6 separate regions of the Homo sapiens genome follow, and all the other regions are linked to region 1. The links are contacts of gene promoters, found by promoter capture Hi-C in blood cells and fetal thymus (Javierre and others, 2016). All regions are on one chromosome and are shown on one strand. The core of a region is centred on a gene start or on the middle of the fragment in contact, and the rest is flanking DNA. Distances in the headings are between cores, read along the strand shown. Region 1 holds the start of ZNF583 (zinc finger protein 583). Region 2 overlaps ZNF543 (zinc finger protein 543). Region 3 has its middle 4.5 kb from the start of ZNF264. Region 4 has its middle 2.8 kb from the start of DUXA. Region 5 overlaps ZNF805 (zinc finger protein 805). Region 6 has its middle 21 kb from the start of USP29.

Region 1 (3,683 bases), core at 68-2,567:
ATTTTAATCAACCATGCCTATGTAATGAAGCCTCTGTAAAACTCCCAAAAGACAGGGTTTAGAGAGCTTCCACCCAGCTGAACATGTGGAGGTTACTGGAAGGTGCAACACCCTTTTTTCTGTACTTTGCCCTACGCATCTCTTCATCTATATCATTTGTAATATCCTTTATAATAAACTAGTAAACATAAGTGTTTCCTGAGTTCCGTGAGCCACTCTAGCAAAATATCGAACCGCAAAGAGGGGGTGGTGAAAATCCCAATTTGAAGGTGGTGGAGTCAGATGTTCCAGAGGCTAGACTTTAGTGGGAAGTGGGAAGGGGGAGGCAGGCTTGGGGACTGAGCCCTCAGCGAATGGTGTCTGACCCATCTCCAAGTAGACGGCGTCGGAATTAAACTGGAGGACACCCAGCTGGTGCCCGCTGCAGAACTCACTGAACTCATTGCTTGCTTGAGATGTGTGGGAAACTCCCCTATATTTGGTCAGAAAAGTCTTCTGTTATGATTAGTTGTCGTTGAGATAATAGAAAAAAATGCACCTTGCGTTTTTTCCACTGATTCAGAGGGCATAACTGAAAGAATGAAGAACTGAAAGAATGATCTTAATACTCTGCTTCGCTTTTCTTGATAATACGCATTACTTCCCAATATGCATCAGTGTCCTTTATTATTAATTTTTTCCTATTGAATTCCTCCCGCATTAGAATGCTGCTCCATGAGGTGGGGATTTTGTCTGCTTGTTCACTGCTGTGTGCCCAGGGCCCACGACAGTGCCCGATACAGCAGGCGCTCAATAAGTGGCGAATGAAAGACAGGGCAAGGCGGAGAGAGAAGAAACAGAAAGGGAAAGAGAAAGCCCGGGCCGCCAGAGCGCTTAATCACACGTACATCCTACCGGGCCCCTCTCCAGCTGGCTCAGGCTCCACACTGGTCCTCCAGCTCCCTTTTCTCAGCGATGGACTCACAGCCCCACCCGGAGCGCTGGAGCGCGGACGCGGTCACTGCGCGTGCGCCTCACCGCGCTGGCACCCCGGCCTGGCAGCCTTTGGGGACCTGAACCAGCTGCGCCTGCGCAGGTGGAACGGGTGGAACGGGTGGGGGAGCGGACAGTCGAACGGCCTGAGAGGGCTCAGCTGGTCCGGGTGGGATTCTGAAGGCCAGCGGAGGTGGGCTTACTAGGGAAAGGGGCGCAGCAGTAACTACCCGCAACTGAGCGGCGGGATCTGCGGCCGCCCGGGGCCCTCGGCCAACATCCCAGCATCCTCTGCGCCGCGCCGGCCCCGGACTCCATTTCCCAGCGGCCCCTGCGGCCTGCCCTAGGGCTGCGGCGCCTTTGTGAGCGCGGCCGCCGGCCAGGATCGAGCCCTGGCCCGGGCCCTGGCCCAGCCCCGGCCTCCAAGGACCGCGCCGAAGGAGGTGCCCACTGGAGGGAGGAGGCGGTGAGGAGCGCGGGATGGAGCTGACGCCGGGAGCGGCCATGCCACCATGTGTGGGACCGTGTGTGACAGTGTGTGAGAATGTGTGAGACATTAAGGAACCGTGTGTGACAATGTGTTTGACAGTGTGGAATCGTGTGTGAGACCATGTGTGACTGTGTGAGAATTTGAGACCGTGTGTGACAGTGTGAGAATGTGAGGCCGTGTGTGAATATGTGTGTCAGTGTGAGACCATGTGGGACAAATGTGGGACTATGTGTGACAGTATGAGACTGGGTGTGAGAATGTGTGCGACAGTATGAGACCGTTGCCCCGGTGTATGCGGGAGCCTTTGACAGTATATGGGACCGTGTGGGACTGTGTGACACTGTATGTGCTTAAGACCACGTCACCATGTGTGAGACTGGGAATGTGTGACAGTGTTAAACTGTCATTATGTGTAGACCACGTGTGAACAGTGTGTAAGACCATGTCACTGTGTGTGTGACCTGTGTGTGTGGGATAATGTAAGACTGTGTGACAGTGTGTGTGACTTTGTGAACAGAGCTTGACCGTGTGTGTAGGATTAGATGAGACTGTGACAGTATGTGAGACCATGTCACCGTGTGTGAGGCTATGTGTGGTTGTGTACGGTGTGTGGCTGTTGATATGGGACCACATGAAACTGCGACAGAATTTGTGTGACAGTGTGTGAGACTGTGTCACTGTATGTGAAACTGTATGTGAACAGAGTTTTTGTTGTTGGACTAAGATTGTATGTGACAGTGTTTGAGATTGTGCATGACAGTGTGTGTGATTATGTGAGACTGAGGGAGATGGTGTGACTTAGCACTGTATGTCATCCCGACAGTGAGTGTGACAGTGTGACTGAGAATGGCCTTATATGACCCATTGTGAGAGCAGGGCGGGCTACAATGTGGGGGCATGTCCATAGGTTGCCAGGGGAGGTGCCAGAATGAGAAACTATGTGGTTTGTTGTCTGTGATTTGTGTGGGCAGGAAGCTGTGTGGGTGCTTGGAGATGCTGGTGTGCTCTGGGGTTTGGGAGACTGCTGTTGTGGTGGAGAGACAGAAAGATTGAGATAAAGGGGAAAAGATGGAGAAAGGGAGGGACGAGAGCTGAAAAGGGAGAGACAGACAGGAGCCTCAGCCTTAAGCCTGAAAAGCTGACCACGCTGGCTGCTTGTCCTCTGGCACAGTAGTTTTTCCATCCCTCTCAGTCTCTGGGGGCACGTGAGGAATTTAAAAGGAAAAAGGAATGGGAGACCTACCATGTGCTGGTTATGAAAATAAATGACAGAAAGATGAAAATTAAGCACTGTGCTCAATGCTTTATGTAGATCATTTCAGAATCCTCCCAACAATTGATAGGGAATAGTTACCATTTCACTGATAGAGAAACAGGTTTGCAGTGGTTACCTAACTTGCCAGAGGTTGTATAGGTAGCATGTGGTGGTTTGGCTGTTTGAGACCAGGTGTTCTGATCCTTAAGCCTAGTAGTTCTTACCACTGAGTTATGCCACTTCATAGGTAATGGCTTTATTCTTCAAGGCAGTGAGGTCTGCTGGACAAGAATTCACCATAGGGGGTTTGGATGACTGTTCAAGCATAGCCTGCTCCTCCCTCCCTCTCTCCTTCTTTCTGTCTGAGGAGATTGCCCAGAAAAGTCAAGAGATTAGTTTTCAGTTGTGGGTTGTCATAAGCCAGGACCAGAAGTAGGCCGTCTTGACTCTTTGATCGAGTGTCCACCACACTACATGGACCCTCTGATACTCACTCTGTGTATAGAGATGCTTTCTCTGAGAAATTTCACTTTGTAGCTTTATCTGTCATCCTTGCAGAAAGGGTGGGAACATATTTCCTTTCAACATCATGATCGGGTGGAAAGAATTAAAAGTTAGAACTGGTTTCCAGTTTGGCTTAATTATTACCATGATGCCTTGAATAATTACTCCGATGAAGAGCCTTCATGTGTGAAAGAGGGGGAAATCCTTGCTTGGTAATACCATTCTGTAATTGCTGTTTTTGTTTTAAATTATAAATGGGGAGGTAACTTAAACACAGAACAGGTATGTTGTATTCTTTTTTTTTTTTTTTTTTTTGAGACAGAGTCTCGCTCTGTGGCCCAGACTGGAGTGTGGTGGCGCGATCTTGGCTCACTGCAAGCTCCGCCTCCTGGGTTCACGCCATTCTCCTGCCTCCTCAGTAGCTGGGACTACAGGCGCCCGCCACCACACCTGGCTAATTTT
Region 2 (3,409 bases), core at 279-2,778, 920 kb after region 1:
GGCTTCCACAGTGGTTTCCTGAGTGGTTTTCTCCTATACCAGCTGACACATGTCTTGGGACACAAGATTTTGTGGTCTTTTGCTAGATGTGCCTTCCTCCTTAGCCAGGACAGACATAGCCAGTCAGGGGCCCATGTTCTCATGGCTACAACCTGCTGTGTCCTCTGTGACTCTTGTTCCTTGCTCCTGAAGTATCCTGACCTCAGGGATACTTGTTGGTAGGACTCAAACAGGAAAAGGTAGTGATAGCTCGTTGTGGATTCTTCCTATGAGAATGGGCATCTGTGAGGCCCAGAAGTGTCCGAGGCAGCAGATGCAGGTCCAGGCCCTGCCACTTTTGAGGCAGGTGCCACCACCTCAGGTGACTCTTCTGTGAGGTAGGTGATTATGACTATGCTGCTCTGCCCAGGTCCATGAAAATATTTCAAGTGGCTAACCCCAGCACAGTGGCATGTGTCTGTATATCCAGCTTGGGAGGCTAAGGCAGGAGGATCATGAGTTCAAGCCCAACCTGGGCAAAATATTGAGACCCTGTCTCAAAAAAAAAAAAAAAAATCCTGAAAATATTTTCAGGGTGGCTCAAATGGATGTATTTCAATGTTTCCCATCCTCATTAACTGTGCATTAACTTTGCTAATGAAGGAGTGTCGGGTTGCATGATTAGAACATAGACCATAGGGCCCTGGGTTCAAATTCTGTCTCTCCTGATAAGAGATGTGACTTTGGGTAGACTAGTGGAGGTCCTGGACCTCAAGTCTCTGAGTGTGACATGGAGATGATGATGGTGAACTCAGGAGCTGTGGCCCTTTGCCCCAGTGTTTCCTTTACAGCTTTTCTTCAGATCTTTTGACTATTCTTGGTGAAGTGGAAAACCCTGTTGTGTTGACCTGGACATCAGGGCTCAGATAAATGAAATGAGATTTCCAAGGTCACATAGCAGGCTTGTGTTGATTTCAGGAATTTGGTTTTAAACCTCAGGAGTCTGACTCCTGAGCTGGGGACTTTTAGTCACTTTACCATGGCATGTAAAGCCATTAGCATGAGGCAGGCTCACAGGGAGGATCGGTAAGACTCAGGTGCTGTTCTTGTTGTTGTTGCTGGTGTTGTTTTTGTTATTATTCTTTCCCATTCCTCTGATGTCTCAGAGCACTTACTGTCTTGCCTCTCAGTCCCCTTAGGATTGTCCTAACCTTATTTCTGTGTGAAGTGGCTTTCTGCATAGGAGGCTTCTCTCTCTTCACTGCTGTAATTTTTTTTTTTTTTTTTGAGACGAGTCTCGCTCTGTCACCCAGGCTGGAGTACAGTGGCACGATCTCGGCTCACTGCAAGCTCCGCCTCCCGGGTTCACGCCATTCTCCTGCCTCAGCCTCCCGAGTAGCTGGGAATACAGGCGCCCGCCACCGCGCCCGGCTAATTTTTTTGTATTTTTAGCAGAGACGGGGTTTCACCATGTTAGCCAGGATGGTCTCGATCTCCTGACCTCGTGATCTGCCCTTCATGGCCCCCCAAAGTGCTGGGATTACAGGCGTGAGCCACCGCGCCTGACCGACACTGCTGTAATTTATCCAAGGCAATGTCCACATTCCCCTCATGCCTGGCACAGATCATGGCCCTCTAGAGATGCTTGGTGATTTGATTCTTGGGTCACTGCGCATCTTTTGCAGTGCTGAAGTGACAAGTTCTAGTTGTATTCCACAGTTCCAAGGGAAACACTACTATCTCTGTTTAATTTTCCAGGTGTCTGTGACCTTTGAGGATGTGGCTGTGACATTCACCCAGGAGGAGTGGGGACAGTTGGATGCAGCCCAGAGAACCTTGTATCAGGAGGTGATGCTGGAGACCTGCGGACTTCTCATGTCTCTGGGTAAGGCCCCTTCTGGTCCTGTGCTCCCTTAGGATTGAGTTCTCCTACTCATGTTCCCCTCTCTCCTCCACAGCCCACTTGTTCTGAGGCTCCTGGCACCACGCAGGGGTGTTCACCATTGGCTCTGAGCGTAGCACTTGGGAGACCAGGGTCTGGTGTCCAGGAGTCCACTCCCATCTCCACTGCTCATGATCCCTGTGTTCCTGGGCAAGTTAAGGAATCCCTCTGTGCCTCAGTTTTTCTCATGAATAAAAAGGGCCAGGCCAGGCACAGTGGCTCATGTCTGTAATCCCAGCACTTTGGGAGGCCGACGCGGACAAATCAGGAGGTCAGGAGTTTGAGACAAGCCTGGGCAACATGGTGAAATCCCGTCTCTACTAAAAATACAAAAAATTAGCCGGGTGTGATGGCGGGTGCCTGTAATCCCAGCTACTCAGGAGGCTGAGGCAGGAGAATCACTTGAACCCGGGAGGCGGAAGTTGCAGTGAGCTGAGATCTCATCACTACACTCCAGCCCAGGCGACAGTGTGAGAGAGACTCCGTCTGAAAAAAAAAAAAAAAAAAGGCCAATATAGTATTTGTTTCATAGGGCTAGTGTGAGGGCAAATGGTTCAGTAGAGTGTGTTGTGATAGGTGGCTGGGCGCAGGTTAGCAATTGTGACCTCTGTTGCTGTCACTATTGTCACTGCTGTCTAAATCATTGTCCTCATAATCAGCAGTATCACACTTGGACTCCGCAGTTTTTGGAACAACTTTGTATAGTTTTTTAGTTAAATTGGCCAGATGCTTTTGATGACTAGACTCAGGTGTACATTTTGGCTTGGCCATTCGCCATTTCCCAGATTTTGGCAAGTCACTTTATCTGCCTGAGCCTCGATCTCTTCATCTATAATGTGGTCCTGATTGCAGTACATTCTTAATGTGCATCCTGTGAAGAAATCCTAAAATAGAATTTTTCATGCAGGGACCATAGGAGTAGCAATGTAATGCTTTGCTTAGAATGTAAAAAAAAAGCCTTAGGTCAGTGAAGAAACTTACCTTTCTCCTGAATGGAGACTCAGTATCTCAAATATGTTATTTCTTTTCTAAACTAATGACTAAATTTAATTGAGTGTTTATAAAATACAATGCATTTAAATTGCTTGGCATATTCCCTAGGTTATAGTTACATTGTATAAATATCAGTTATTGACATACTATTAGGAGTAAAGTTCTATGGCCAGGTGGCATATTGATTAAGGACTTGGATTTGAGAGCCACAGCAGCAAAGTCTCTCCAAGAAGTGACATTTGAGCTGAGACCCAAAGAGTGAGTTGATTAGAAGGAGCAAGATAGAGGAGCAAGTAGTATTCCAAGTAGGCAGGCTGGCATGTGCAAAGGCCCTGAGGTGGTGAAGAGCATGATCCTGACAAAGCTGAAGGAAGGTCTGATTCCCCTTTTTCACTGCACTGTCATTGAACCCAGTGCCAAGCACATAGCAAAAATGAGTGAACATTTGCTTAGAGATGACTGATGAATCCCACCCTGTGTTTTTGTGGGTCCTAC
Region 3 (3,305 bases), core at 455-2,954, 780 kb after region 1:
GGGAGATCAAGTCTGCAGTGAACTGAGGTCGCACCACTGCACTCCAGCCTGGGTGACAGAGCAAGACCCTGTCTCAATTAAAAAAACAAACAAACAAAAAAAAAACTTAGGATCCAGCAGTGAACAAAATCATCACTGACGCTTACCCTCATGGAGCTAACATTCTGGATGAAAAGTCAGAAATAAACAATAATTATAATACAGAAATAGACATGATAAGTTAACCAGTGCTATAACAAAAAGAAGGAAAAGGAGAGTAAGGTGGATCAGGGTGTCAGAGTTTGGGGAGTTGTTTGCAATTTTCATTAGAATGATCAGGAAACAGCTTATTTAGAATGTGACATAGATCAAAGTCTATAGGGAGATGAGGGGCTGAGCCATGTGGAGATTGGGGTAGGAAGTGGATTTCCTGCCACAGGCTTTCAAGCAAGCATATAATATCCAGGGCTGGGTGCTGTGGCTCACGCCTGTAATCCCAGCACTTTGGGAAGCCAACGTGAGAAGATTGCTTGAGGCCAGGAATTCAAGACCAGCTTGGGCAACATATTAAGACCCCCATCTCTATTTTTTTTAATCTTTTTTTTTTTTCTTTTGAAACGGAGTCTCGCTCTGTCGCCAGGCTGGAGTGCAGTGGCCCGATCCCAGCTTACTTCAATCTCTGCCTCCTGGGTTCAAGCGATTCTCCTGCCTCAGCCTCCTGACTAGCTGGGATTACAGGTGTGTGCCACCACGCCTGGCTAATTTTGTATTTTTAGTAGAGACTTCCCCATGTTTGCCAGGATGGTCTCGAACTTCTCACCTCGAGTGATCCACCCACCTCAGCCTCCCAAAGTACTGGGATTACAGGTGTGAGCCACCACACCTGGCCAAAATAAGCCTTTTTTACTGTATTTATTTGAAGATTAAAGATGGTTTAAGGTGACAAGGGGTAGAGTATGATTGCCAACTATATGTGTAAACTTGTTTAGGCTGTACTACCCAGAAATTGTATTAAACACTGACCAGGGTATTGTTATGAAGGTATTTCATAGAAACGGTTAACATCTATAATCAGTTATTTTGATAATGTAGGTGGTTCTTATCTAATCAGTTGAAAGGCCTTAAGAGAAAAACAGGGTTCCCTGGGGAAGAAATTCTGCCTCAAGACTGCACCTTCAGCTCCTATCCACGTTTCAATTCTGCTGGCCTGAACTCTAGCCTACAGATTTGGGACTGGCCTGTCCCTGCAATCACATAGCCCATTTCTTCTTCTATCTTTTTTTAAAATTTTTATTGTAGGCAAGGTGGGTGGCTCACACCTGTAATCCCAGCACTTTGGGAGGCCAAGGTGGGCGGATTATGAGGTCAGGAGTTCAAGACCAGCCTGGCCAACACAGTGAAACCCCATCTCTACTAAAAGATATAAAAAATTAGCCAGGCACAGTGGCGGGCACCTGTAATCCTACCTACTCAGGAGGCTGAGGCAGGAGAATTGCTTGAACCCAGGAGATGGAGGTTGCAGTGAGCCAAGATTGCAACACTACACACCAGCCCGGGTGACAGTGCCGAGACTCTGTCTCAAAAAAAAAAATTATTGTGGAGGAATGGTCTCACTATGCTGCACAGGCTAGTCTCTTAACTCCCGGCCTCAAGAGCCGGGTCTGTCCTGTAGACCCTGGCTGAGCGATGGATGAAAGGAGTACTCAGACACAGGTATGTAGTGTAAGAGCAGCTAGGGGACTGCTGAAGAGTGAGCAGTCTTGATAAGCTGGGACTGCTTGCTTTTATTCAGTACAGACATAATGCCAAAAGCCTGGAGCCAACACAGTCTGTGGGTAATTAACATTATTGTTCCCCCTTTTGGGGGCAGCCTCACTCGTGAATGATCAAATGTTGGTTCCTAGTTAACATAAGTAAACAAGCCTGTTTATGTTAAATTCCCCTACACTTCCTTGTACCTACTCCTTGCCCTCTGCCTTAGGGTAAGAGAACAGCTGCTTTCAGCTTATTCTCCCGTGAAGCTATGCAGAGACTTCTGACCTTTCAGAAGGTTTGCGTCCTTTTCTTATAGCTTCTCCCACCACTCTGACCGATCTCCTACACTCAAGCAATCCTCCTTCCTCAGCCTCCCAAAGTGCTGGGATTACAGGCATGAGCCACCGCACACCACCCCCATTTCTTGCAGTAAAATATGTGTGTGTGTGTGCGCGTGTGCGCGCGTGTGTATTCCATTTCTCCCTAATACCATTTCTCAGCTGCATGAATCCTTAACTCATGAAAGATACTTTTTATCCTCTTGACTCTACAGTTAATGGAAAATAAAAATCATCAATAGTGACTTCTAAGATTGCTTAATATACCTTTCTGGGAGGACAGTTAGAACTCCTAATGTGAGCTTGTCAGTTTCTTGTGAAAACCAACCCAGTTGTCCCATAGAACTGATGTTTGTGGTTTCTTTTGACTGAACCTAGAAATTGACCCTCCCACTCTTAAAACTTGAGAAAAGTACATTTGTCATAATCGTTTGTCACAGAAATAACCAAATTTCCTTGTCCATTGTTTTTTAACTATGGTTGTCCTAAGACTTTTGTCATCCACAATTATTGTTTGACTTTGAGTCTTCTCCAAAGGTGGCTTACAGTCAGCTACAGTTCAGGGCTTCTTTGAGAGAGTTCATAAAAAGAACACTTGAATTCAAGTTTCTGGTAACTTTGGAGATTGTCCTATCAGCCTAGAGAGAAAACTTCCAGGACTCTAATTAGAAGGCTGATATATTCATAAAATACATAATTATGTATACATATGTTTATGCAATATGAAGCAGAGCAGGAGTTTCATGGACTGTACTAATTTATTTCATGATAAATAAAAATATTTTATTATATAGTATATTAAGCCATCTTAGAAGTCACTGTTGATGATTTTTTTTTCTCCATTAACTGTGGAGCCAAGAGGGTAAAAAGTATCTTTCATGAGTTAAGGATTCATGCAGTTGAGAAATGGAATTAGGGAGAAATGGAACACACACACACAAACACAGAGATTTATTTCAAGTACTGAATTTATTTTATTATTTTTTGTGTGTGTTTGAAACATTGCTGATTCTTTTTGTTTTGTTTTTGAGTCAGGAGAACTTTTTTTGTAAATCTACTTTCTGTCTCTATGAAACTTTTTTCTTTCCAGCTATTTATAGCCTTTAACAATTGAATATACATTTGTAAACAAAATTTGAGGGCTATTTCTCTCTCTGCCTGATTTCTCCAGAATTCAGAAACTATTTGTGAATATTCTTAATTCACGGCAATGTGGTTGTTTGCATATGTTCA
Region 4 (3,611 bases), core at 97-2,596, 770 kb after region 1:
TGGCCAGATATCAAGCCATTTTGGAGAAACAATTTCGAACCAGGAAAATGACATGAAATAACATTTAACAGGAAAATTTTACACTTTATTTAATTAAAACAATGATAAATTGTTTTTCTTTTCTGTATATGACATTTCATCACAATATTTTTTCACCAAATTTGTCTGGAAATCTAGAGCAGAATTTTCTGCTGTTTGTTTATATTGATGTTTATATTTTGATGTAAATTATATGTACATCTACTTGAACATTAGTATTACAATTATAAATGTGCTTTAAATTAATTGACACAATATTGGATATTCATTATAATTATATTATCATTAAATATATTATATTAATATATAATATTAATAATATAATCTTGATATACCATATAACAGATATATTACATATTATATTTACTCCAGTTAAATATTATATTTACTTTTTAGCTTTATTGAGGTACAGTTGACAAAAATGATATATATTTAAATATACAATTTGAATTTTGATATACACATATAATTGAATCCCAGATTCAATTACCATAATCAAATCAAGCTGATTGATGTATTTACCACCTCAAACCACACCCTTTGTGTGTGTGTACATATATATTACATTATATTATATTTACTCCAATTATTGTATTTACTTTTTAGCTTTATTGAGGTACAGTTAACAAAAATGATATAAATGATATATATTTTAAATATACAGTTTGAATTTTGAAATACACAAAAGATATAATTACCATAATCAAATCAAGCTGATTGATGTATTTACCACCTCAAACCACACCCTTTGTGTGTGTGTACATATATATTACATTATATTATATTTACTCCAATTAAATATTGTATTTACTTTTTAGCTTTATTGAGGTACAGTTGACAAAAATGATATAAATGATATATATTTTAAATATACAGTTTGAATTTTGAAATACACAAAAGATATAATTACCATAATCAAATCAAGCTGATTGATGTATTTACCACCTCAAACCACACCCTTTGTGTGTGTGTACATATATATTACATTATATTATATTTACTCCAATTAAATATTGTATTTACTTTTTAGCTTTATTGAGGTACAGTTGACAAAAATGATATAAATGATATATATTTTAAATATACAGTTTGAATTTTGAAATACACAAAAGATATAATTACCATAATCAAATCAAGCTGATTGATGTATTTACCACCTCAAACCACTCCCTTTGTGTGTGTGTACATATATATTACATTATATTATATTTACTCCAATTAAATATTGTATTTACTTTTTAGCTTTATTGAGGTACAGTTGACAAAAATGATATAAATGATATATATTTTAAATATAGTTTGAATTTTGAAATACACAAAAGATATAATTACCATAATCAAATCAAGCTGATTGATGTATTTACCACCTCAAACCACACCCTTTGTGTGTGTGCATATATGTTACATTATATTATATTTACTCCAATTAAATATTGTATTTACTTTTTTTTTTTTTTGAGACAGTGTTTCACTCTTGTTGCCCAGGCTGAAGTGCAGTGGGGTGATCTCAGGTCACTGCAGCCTCTGCCTCCCAGATTCAAGTGATTCTCCTGCCTCAGGCTCCTGAGTAGCTGGGATTACAGGCATCTGCCACCACGTCTGGCTAATTTTTTGTATTTTTAGTAGAGATGGGGTTTCACCATATTGGCCAGGCTGGTCTCGAACTACTGACCTCAGGTGATCCACCTGCCTCGGCCTCCCAAAGTGCTAGGATTACAGGTGTGATCCACTGCCCTGGGCCTTGTATTTACTTTTTAGCTTTATTGAGGTACAGTTGACAAAAAAGATACATATTTTAAATATACGATTTGAATTTTGATATACACATATAATATGATATGGTTACCATAATCAAATCAAGCTGATTGATGTATTAACCACCTCAAATTATACCCTTTGTGTGTGTGTGTGTGTGCGGTCAGAACACTTTTTAAAAAAAATATCCTTTTCTCCCCCATGCAGAAGAACACTTAAGGTCTATCCTTGTCGCAAAAAATAAAAATCTATCCTCTTAGCAAATGTCAAGTAGTATTGTTTTTTTCATTTCTGATCATCCAATTTAAAATTTTTTTTTCTAATTTGTTAACTATGTCACATAATGTCACAATGTACATGTCAAATAACGTCACTATGTACCTTAAATCCCCAAAACTTATCTTGCAAAACTGAAAATTTGTACTTCTTGACCAACATTTCCCCATTTCCCCTTCACTCAAGCCCCCGGCAACCACCATTTTACTCTCTGCTTCTATTTTTGATCCAACCTCACTGTTTGTGTCCACGCTCCTTAATTTTCTTGGTCATGAGACCACGAGCTTAGATAACACCTTAGACAATGAGACCAGTGACCCTGACCTGTTTCAGTTTAGTTATTTAAAATATTTTTCTTTCTTTTTTAAATTGTATTTATTTATTTATTTGTTTTGAGAGGGTCTTGCTCTGTCGCCCAGGCTGGAATGCAGTGGTGCAACCATGGCTCACTGCAGCCTCCGACTCCTGGGCTCAAGCGATCTTACCCCCTAGGGCTCCAAAAGTGCTCTGACAGTAAATGCATGAGCTACCATGCCCAGCCATCAAATTTTCAATCATTATAAATCTTAGAGCTGGAAATAATATCTCATTGTTTTATTTTTAATTTGAGCGCTAGCGTGCTTGAACACTTTTAATCAAATGTATTTGCCATATTTTATTTTTCTTTTATTAGCTTTCAGATTCTTTGCTTCTTTCTTAGGTAGAACATTTCTTTGAGACTTAAATATTATGCTGCATTTGTCCTATGTCCTGCAAGTGTTTTCTTAATTCAGTATTTTAAAATAATATTTTGTTTTTATGTTTTTTGTATCTTTATAGCATTCTTCTAAATTGGATCTATGTTTATTTTAATTGTCTAGTCAAAGTACTGACAAGGAGGAGTGAACTTCCTGAAAACGGAGAACAAGATGTGATGCCTTTTAGTAAATGTTTACCAAAAGACACAGGATTCCATTTCCAATTCCATATCGAGAACCTTTAAAATTGTACATAAAAATGCAGGTGAAGTCGTGGAGAAGGGAGGCCAACAGTGCACACAGGTAGTGCCTCTGGGGAAGAATCAGAAGTCATCCTGCATCCTAAATTCCTGACCTGACTTTTCTGCAGGGCGAGTATCTGACCTGTGCTACACCATCAGCAACACAAAGAAAACTTGATGAGCTTTTATTTCCTTTTATTTGTATGTTTCACTCCAGTTTTCAATTCCGTGCCCTCAAAAGCCCGGATATCATCACCGGTACCTCTTTTAAGCTTCACCTCTCTGTGCGGCTCCGCAAGTATGTTGGTCTCCCTGAGAGAGTGGGGCCTGCAACCTGCTGGGCGCAGGCGCCTTGAGCTGCCACGTCTGCCCTTTTACCGGCTTGGGTGCAGGCAAGGGAAATGCGTCCCCGGGCCGGGGGGCGCGAGCGGGGGTCCGGGGCCGCGAGCTGGGGTCCGGGGAGCGCGAGCGGGGGTCCGGGGGGCGGGGGCCGCGGGCCGCGAGGGGGGCGGGGGCCGCGAGGGGGCGGGGCGTGCGAGGGGGCGGGGGCGTGCGAGGGGGC
Region 5 (3,567 bases), core at 141-2,640, 840 kb after region 1:
GTAACCACCCCAGGTTTTACTGTTTGTGACCCCTCCTTCCCCTCCAGATTTCTTGTCTGTTTCTCTGGCCTCTGTGGGGCGTGTTTGAGGCAGCAAATGCTGCTCCACCTCCAGCTCATACTTGCCTCCATCTCTCACCCACTGCCCAGCATAGACTGGCCTCTGTCTGCAGTTTTTTTTTTGAGTTCCAGAGCGGGATCTGCCTGGGTGGGCCTGGTTGCTCATGTATCTGCTCCACAGCCCAGTCTGTGGTGTAAGGGTTGGTGGGATGTTCACTAAGAAGGGTTGAGTCAGGCAGGCCCCAAGGAGACATTGACCTTCCGTCCCACCAGGTGTTATTCTAAACAACCTTCACGTCCTTCAATCACCTTCACATCCTCTGATTCTAAAGTCACTCTGCTGCAGCCTTGCTGGGCTTCTTGCTATTTCCCCAAGTGCCCACCCACCTCAGGCCATTGCATTTGCTGTTCTCTTTGATGAGTGTTCTCAGGGTAATTCAGCATTTCACATGGCCGCCCCTTCTCAGCACCACTTGCCTCCTCACCCAGCCCTTCCCTGACCACCGAATCTTGGGGAGGCCCCTTTCTCACCATAGCCTCCTCCCTTTACCTTTTTAATGTCTTTCTAAGCTAGTGTTTCTCAAACAGGGACGATGTTGAGCTTCAGTGGACACTGGGCAATGTGTGGAGACATTTTGGTTGTTAAAACTAAGATGATGGGCCAGGTGCGATAGCTCATGCCTGTAATCCCAGCACTTTGGGAGGCCGAGATGGGCGGATCACAAGGTCAGGAGATAGAGACCATCCTGGCTAACACGGTGCAACCCTGTCTCTACTAAAAATACAAAAAATTAGCCGGGCGTGGTGGCGGGTGCCTGTAGTCCCAGCTACTCGGGAGGCTGAGGCAGGAGAATGGCGTGAACCCAGGAGGCGGAGCTTGCAGTGAGCTGAGATTGCACCACTGCACTCCAGCCTGGGCGACAGAGCGAGACTCCATCTCAAAAAAAAAAAAAACCTAAGATGATAACATTGACAGCTAGTGGGTGGAGATGCTGCTAAACATCCTTATAATGCACAGGACAGATCCTTTCTCCTCCTCTTCCCCCGATCTCACAAACAAAGAATTACCTGGACCTAAATGTCAATTGTGCTAAGGCGAGAAGCTCTTTTTCAGAGAGTGCTTGGACAGACACTACATCAGCTGGTGCTGAGAGACACTTGAGGAAGTTGTTCTTTTATTTCTTCTCGTCTTGTCTCCTTAGCATTTGAGGAAAACTCTGGTTTAGTGCTGAGACTTAACGTCCTGCAAACTGTTGGTAATTTCCCCTTTTCTACAGAGGGAGCAGCCTTAGGCTCACAGCCCTGAACAAGCAGCATGAGCTCACAGGGACCAAAGAGCACTGTTTGTTTGTCTTGAGACAGAGTCTCGCTGTTGCCTCGGCTGGAGTGCAGTGGTTTGATCTTGGCTCACTGCAACCTGTGCCTCCTGGATTCAAGCATTTCTCATGCCTCAGCCTCCTGAGTAGCTAGGATTACAGGCAGGTGCCACCACGCCCAGCTAATTTTTGTATACGTTGTTTTGATTTATTGCTACATTTTCATGGTTACCTGCCATCAAGACAAGTGACTCTGGATTTTCCATTTACCAGAGTGATAAGGATTCCATTTTTGAAGAAATCTAAGAAAAATAAAAAGTGGATCACTTTTAAGAAAAGCAGCCCGGGCATGGTGGCTCATGCCTGCAATCTCAGCACTTTGGGAGGGCAAGGCAGGCAGATCACGAGGTCAGTTGATAGCGACCATCCTGGCCAACATGGTGAAACCCCGTCTGTACTAAATATACAAAAATTAGCTGGGTGTGGTAGCGCATGCCTGTAATCCCAGCTACTCAGGAGGTGGAGGCAGGAGAATCACTTGAACCAGGGAGTTGGAGGTTGCAGTGAGCTGAGATCGCGCTACTGCACTCCAGCCTGATGACAGAGCGAGACTTCGTCTCAAAAAAAAAAAAAAAAAAAGAAAAGCAGTTAACAGTCCAGATCCCCAGAGCACTGATTGGGTGTCTCAGGCCTGTTCCAGGCAGTGTTCATGCTCCATTTATTCTCACAGGATCCCTGTCCTCAGCAAAGTAAGGAAAATTTAGCCACTCCTGTGAGTCCCTCATCCAGTTTAACTTACTCAGCACAGATGAAACACCTTCATTTTATGAAGCTATCACTGAATGTTTTTGTGTAGAAAAAATTCTTCTCTTGTGAACTTTTTTTTTTTTTTTTGAGATGGAGTTTCACTCTTGTCTCCCAGACTGGAGTGCAGTGGTGCAAGATCATAGCTCACTGCGATCCTCACACCTTACCGTCTCCAGTAGCTGGGACTACAGATGCGAGCCACTGCGCTGCTATATGAAGTTTCTGTAAATATCCTTATGTCACCATATCACAGTAGGATGTTCAGTCTTTAAATATTTTAATGGTTCGTGAAATGCTGGGGTCTGGAGTCACTGACCTGCCCCTCATCCTGGCCGCTGGTCCCTGAGGATGAATCCTCCAGCTCACATCTCTGCCTCGTCACCACCCTCTGCCACCCACTCTGGTGCTCGTGGTTTCCTCCTTACTGTATTTCTTGGGAGAGTAGGGTTTGAAGCCAGAACGCTGGTGTCCAGCCCCAGCTCTGCTCTTTAAAAACTCCATGGCCTTGGGCAAGTTACTGAACTTGCCTGTGCCTCAGTGTTCTCATTGTTCAAATGAGGACTTAACCATATTCGCATCCCAGGGCTGTTGCCAGGGTCAAGGGTTATTTTATGAAAAGGCTCAGAACAGCACCTGGGAGACCAGGCTGCGTGCAGGGAGCCATTACAATCTCTGTTTCCACCAGTACTATTACCGTCGTCCTCATCATGATTATTGTCGTTGGCATGCCTTGACCTGGCACTTTCTGGGCAGCGTTGTGGAGCTTTGTGGTTAAACAGCACAGACAGAGATGGCAGGACCTGGGTTTCCTTATTGACTCAGCCATTCTCCAGTTCTGTGCTCTTCAGCAAATCACTTTACCTCCCCGAGCCTGGGTTTCTTTGTCAACAAAATGGTGTTGATTATGATATGGACTTCCTGGGTATACCGTGAGGAAATCCTCAACTGGAATCCTCATTTAATGGCTAGGCATGGTGGCTCACGCCTGTAATCCTAGCACTCTGGGAGGCCTAGGCGGGTGGATCACCTGAGGTCAGGAATTCAGGACTAGCCTGGCCATCATAGTGAAACCTCATTTTTACTAAAAATACAAAAAAATTAGCCAGGCATGATGGCACGCGCCTTTAGTCCCAGCTACTCAGGAGGCTGAGTGAGCGGAGATCGCGCCACTGCACTCCAGCCTGGGCAACAGACGCATTTAGTCTTTGGTTTAGAGGAAGAGCATTATAAAACATTGCTTAGGATGTTAAAAAAAAAAAAAAAAGACTTAGATAAGTGAAGATACATACCTTGTTCTGAATGAAAATAATCAATGTTTAATATTTAAAGTGTATCACTTTTTCTCTAAGATATTCCATAAATATTGTTCACTTTTTAATGCATTT
Region 6 (3,174 bases), core at 417-2,916, 700 kb after region 1:
GAAATTGGATGGGATGAACTCGGGAGTAAGTTAACTCTGTCTGCGTCCTGTGCACCTGATGCAGCAATAAATACTCCATCAAAGGCATTGCATTTCCCAAAAGCCCGTGAGGCAGGCGTGATTCTAGTGTCCATTTTACAGAGAAGAGTACTGAGGTGTGGAGAGACTAAGTCGGCCAGCAGTGAACACCCTCAGCCACTGCTCGGACAGCTCTCGCTCACCTCCCTGCATCTCCGGCTCCAGACGCCATGGTCTCCATCACTCTCCCTCACTCGGGATCTCATGCCGGCTCCCGGCTTGGATCACAGACGCTGATGGCTCAAAAACGTGTGTCTGGGTTAGAGAATCCACCTGTCTCCCTTAGCTCTGCACTGGGGTTGCCCAATTTAATAAATAAAAATACAAATTGCCTGGTTAAATATGGATTTCAGATAAACAATAAAAAAGAATCAACTTTTATTTTAGAATCGACTTAGATTTGGCGAAAAGTTGCAAAGAGAATAGAAAGTTTTCCTTGTTCCTGCACCCAGCTTCCCCTGTTAGTAGCGTCTTACACGAGTATGATTTATCTCAATATTAGTGAACTGGCCAGGCACGGTGGCTAACACCTGTAATACCAGCACTTTTGGAGGCTGAGGCAGGTGGATCACTTGAGGTCAGGAGTTCGAGACCAGCCTGGCCAACATGGTGAAACCCCATCTCTACTAAAAAATACAAAAATTAGCCAGGCGTGGTGGTGAGCACCTGTAGTCACAGCTACTCAGGAGACTGAGGCATGATAATTGCTTGAACCCAAGAGGCAGAGGTTGCAGTGAGCCAAGATTTTGCCACTGCACTCCAGACTCGGCAACGAGTGAGACCCTGACTCTAAAAAACCGTAAAAATAAAAATAAATAAATAATTGCCAAGTGTGGTGGCTCATGCCTATCTATAATCCCAGCATTTTGGGAGGCAGAGGTGAGCAGATCACTTGAGCCCAGGAGTTCAAGACCAGCCTGGGCATCATGGCAAAAACCCTTCTCTACAAAAAATACAAAAATTAGCTGGGTGTGGTGGTGCAGGCCTGTAGTCCCAGCTACTCGGGAGGCTGAGGCAGGAGGATTGCTCAAGCTGGGGAGGCTGCAGTGAGCCAAGACAGCGCCACTGTACTCCAGCCTGAGCCACAGAGTGAGACCCTGTCTCAATAGAAAAACAAATACATAATAAATACATAAAACGCCCATGGCAGGGACACACACGCTGGTTTGGGTTGGAGCCAGCCCGTAAACCCAAATTTGGGGGCCCGGGCTCTCGGCTGCTGCAGCACTGACTACCGTTAAGGTACAATAAAACTGACACATGGGCAGTGAGGGGAATTTGCTCTCCTGCCTCCCTCCCTAAGTTCATCTGCTGAGAAAAATGCTTTGAGATAAACCTGGAGCCACAGCTCTCTGCACAGTCAGATCGCAGGAACGCGGCCTAGCTGCTTCAGCCACGTTCTCGCGGCGCCACCTGGTGGCCATGGACCGCCATCGCCGCTGGACGTCAGGGCCGCCAGGCCCAGCGAGATGTCACCTCCTCTGAGGAGCCTTCCAGGATCGCACCCGGCACGCGCTCCACGCCTCGTTGTCTGTTCTTCGGAGCACCGACCATGATCACAAATCAGCTCGCTCGCTGTGTTTCCTGCCGGGTCGCTACCGCCATGATCCGCACGTAGTGGTCAAGGCTGAGGTTGTATGAATGTGGACGTTATAACCCTGGCTCCCTCTCCCTCCCTATGCTGGGCTCCCCTCGATCCCCAGGCGGTGGGGTGCCCCTGGTTTTTCCTTTTTAAAATTATAAGTCTGGCCGGACGCGGTGGCTCAGGACCGTAATCCCAGCACTTTGGGAAGTCGAGGGAGGGTGTATCACTTGAGGCCAGGAGTTCAAGACCAGCCTGGCCAACATGGTGAAACACCATCTCTACTAAAAATACAAAAATTTGCCGGGCATGGTGGTGTGCGCCTGTAACCCCAGCTACTTGGGAGGCTGAGGCAGGAGAATCGCTTGAACCTGGGAAGCAGAGGTTGCAGTGAGCCGAGATCTCCAGCCTGGGTGGCAGAGTGAGCCTTCGTCTCAAAAAATAAAAAATAAAAAAAAGGTTAAATCAATTTAAATGTCAATGTCCACAGGAGCTACAGATGGTACCAATAGCTCCCAGCTGGGGCTCGTGTATCATTGGTCAGGGCTTCATCAGGATTGGCTACTGCCCCACCCTTGTTAAACATTTTTAATATCTTCCTTGTCTACCAGGGTCAGGCACCTCAGGTAGATGAATGAAGGATGGGGGGGATGGGGGAGGGAGATGGAAGAGGGAAGGGAAGCAGAGGGAGGAGGAGTGAGTGGGCAGCCCTGATCGGAGGTCCCTCCCCATCCCATCTAAAGGGGCTCCCTGGCCGGGCGCAGTGGCTCACACCTGCCATCCCAGCACTTTGGGAGGCTGAGGCGGGTGGATCACCTGAGGTCAGGAGTTCAAGACCATCCTGGCCAACATGGTGAAACCCCGTCTCTACTAAAAATACAAAAAGTAGCCGGGTGTAGTGGTTCATGCCTGTAATCCCAGCTACTCTGGAGGCTGAGGCTGGAGAGTCGCTTGAACCTGGGAGGCGGAGGTTGCGGTGAGCCAAGATCGCCCCACTGCACTCCAGCCTGGGCGACAGAGCGAGATTCCGTCTCAAAAAAATAAAAAATTAATAAAATAAAAATAAATAAATAAATAAATAAAGGGGCTCCCTGCTCTTCTGCTCCAACCTGTGGCTGCCGCATAGGAACATGGGTCACAAAACCCAGAAATCTGGATTCCTTTAAGTGAAATCTTCCAAATTTTATGTTTAAGAAGGTCATGTATTTATTCCTTCCTAAAGACCATGCTGACCAAATCAAATGAGTCTGTGGATAAGTGTGTCCAGGCTTCAGACTACTCCCTTTTGGAGCCTGTGGTGTAAAGGGAACAGCTTAAAGTCCCTCGCCCCAGTCAACAGGGGAATTTAATGTCTTGGGTTCCCTGGCAGAACTTTTCTGTTTTTTTTTTTTTTCTCTTTATCTAACACTTCCATGTGTCTTACTGAAAGCCAGCTGCAGAGTTAGAGCAGCGTTTGGCAGAATCAAATATGGACTAGCGCTTGCTTCTGTACGGCCCTCAGGTTAAGCATGGAT

The links. The method cuts DNA at HindIII sites, captures the fragments that hold promoters and counts their contacts. A CHiCAGO score of 5 or more calls a contact.
Region 2: a fragment that was not itself captured here is called in contact with the fragment with the promoter of ZNF583 in region 1 in 2 of 17 cell types (total CD4 T cells and neutrophils); the score reaches 6.5 in total CD4 T cells.
Region 3: a fragment that was not itself captured here is called in contact with the fragment with the promoter of ZNF583 in region 1 in 1 of 17 cell types (naive CD4 T cells); the score reaches 8.4 in naive CD4 T cells.
Region 4: a fragment that was not itself captured here is called in contact with the fragment with the promoter of ZNF583 in region 1 in 1 of 17 cell types (total CD8 T cells); the score reaches 5.9 in total CD8 T cells.
Region 5: a contact is called between a fragment that was not itself captured here and the fragment with the promoter of ZNF583 in region 1, in 1 of 17 cell types (neutrophils). The highest score is 5.4, in neutrophils.
Region 6: a contact is called between a fragment that was not itself captured here and the fragment with the promoter of ZNF583 in region 1, in 1 of 17 cell types (naive CD8 T cells). The highest score is 5.4, in naive CD8 T cells.

Annotation. Positions count from the first base shown.
Region 1 is chr19:56,403,015-56,406,697 of GRCh38, forward strand. It overlaps ZNF583 (zinc finger protein 583), which reads left to right and starts at 1,318. Exons shown (of 5, transcript NM_152478.3): 1 at 1,318-1,438. RefSeq lists an enhancer at 742-881 and a silencer at 1,342-1,551. The HindIII fragment of the contact is 8,045 bases long and covers 1-3,683 here.
Region 2 is chr19:57,321,945-57,325,353 of GRCh38, forward strand. It overlaps ZNF543 (zinc finger protein 543), which reads left to right. Exons shown (of 4, transcript NM_213598.4): 2 at 1,738-1,864. Among named protein-coding and RNA genes, the nearest start is that of ZNF543, 3.2 kb to the left of the region's middle. The HindIII fragment of the contact is 4,027 bases long and covers 1-3,409 here.
Region 3 is chr19:57,185,318-57,188,622 of GRCh38, forward strand. No RefSeq gene overlaps it. Among named protein-coding and RNA genes, the nearest start is that of ZNF264, 4.5 kb to the right of the region's middle. The HindIII fragment of the contact is 5,081 bases long and covers 1-3,305 here.
Region 4 is chr19:57,168,460-57,172,070 of GRCh38, forward strand. No RefSeq gene overlaps it. Among named protein-coding and RNA genes, the nearest start is that of DUXA, 2.8 kb to the left of the region's middle. RefSeq lists a silencer at 3,372-3,421. The HindIII fragment of the contact is 3,945 bases long and covers 1-3,319 here.
Region 5 is chr19:57,244,780-57,248,346 of GRCh38, forward strand. The region is part of intron 2 of ZNF805 (zinc finger protein 805); the gene reads left to right. Among named protein-coding and RNA genes, the nearest start is that of ZNF805, 5.9 kb to the left of the region's middle. RefSeq lists an enhancer at 1,262-1,556. The HindIII fragment of the contact is 5,225 bases long and covers 1-3,567 here.
Region 6 is chr19:57,097,877-57,101,050 of GRCh38, forward strand. No RefSeq gene overlaps it. Among named protein-coding and RNA genes, the nearest start is that of USP29, 21 kb to the right of the region's middle. The HindIII fragment of the contact is 7,444 bases long and covers 1-3,174 here.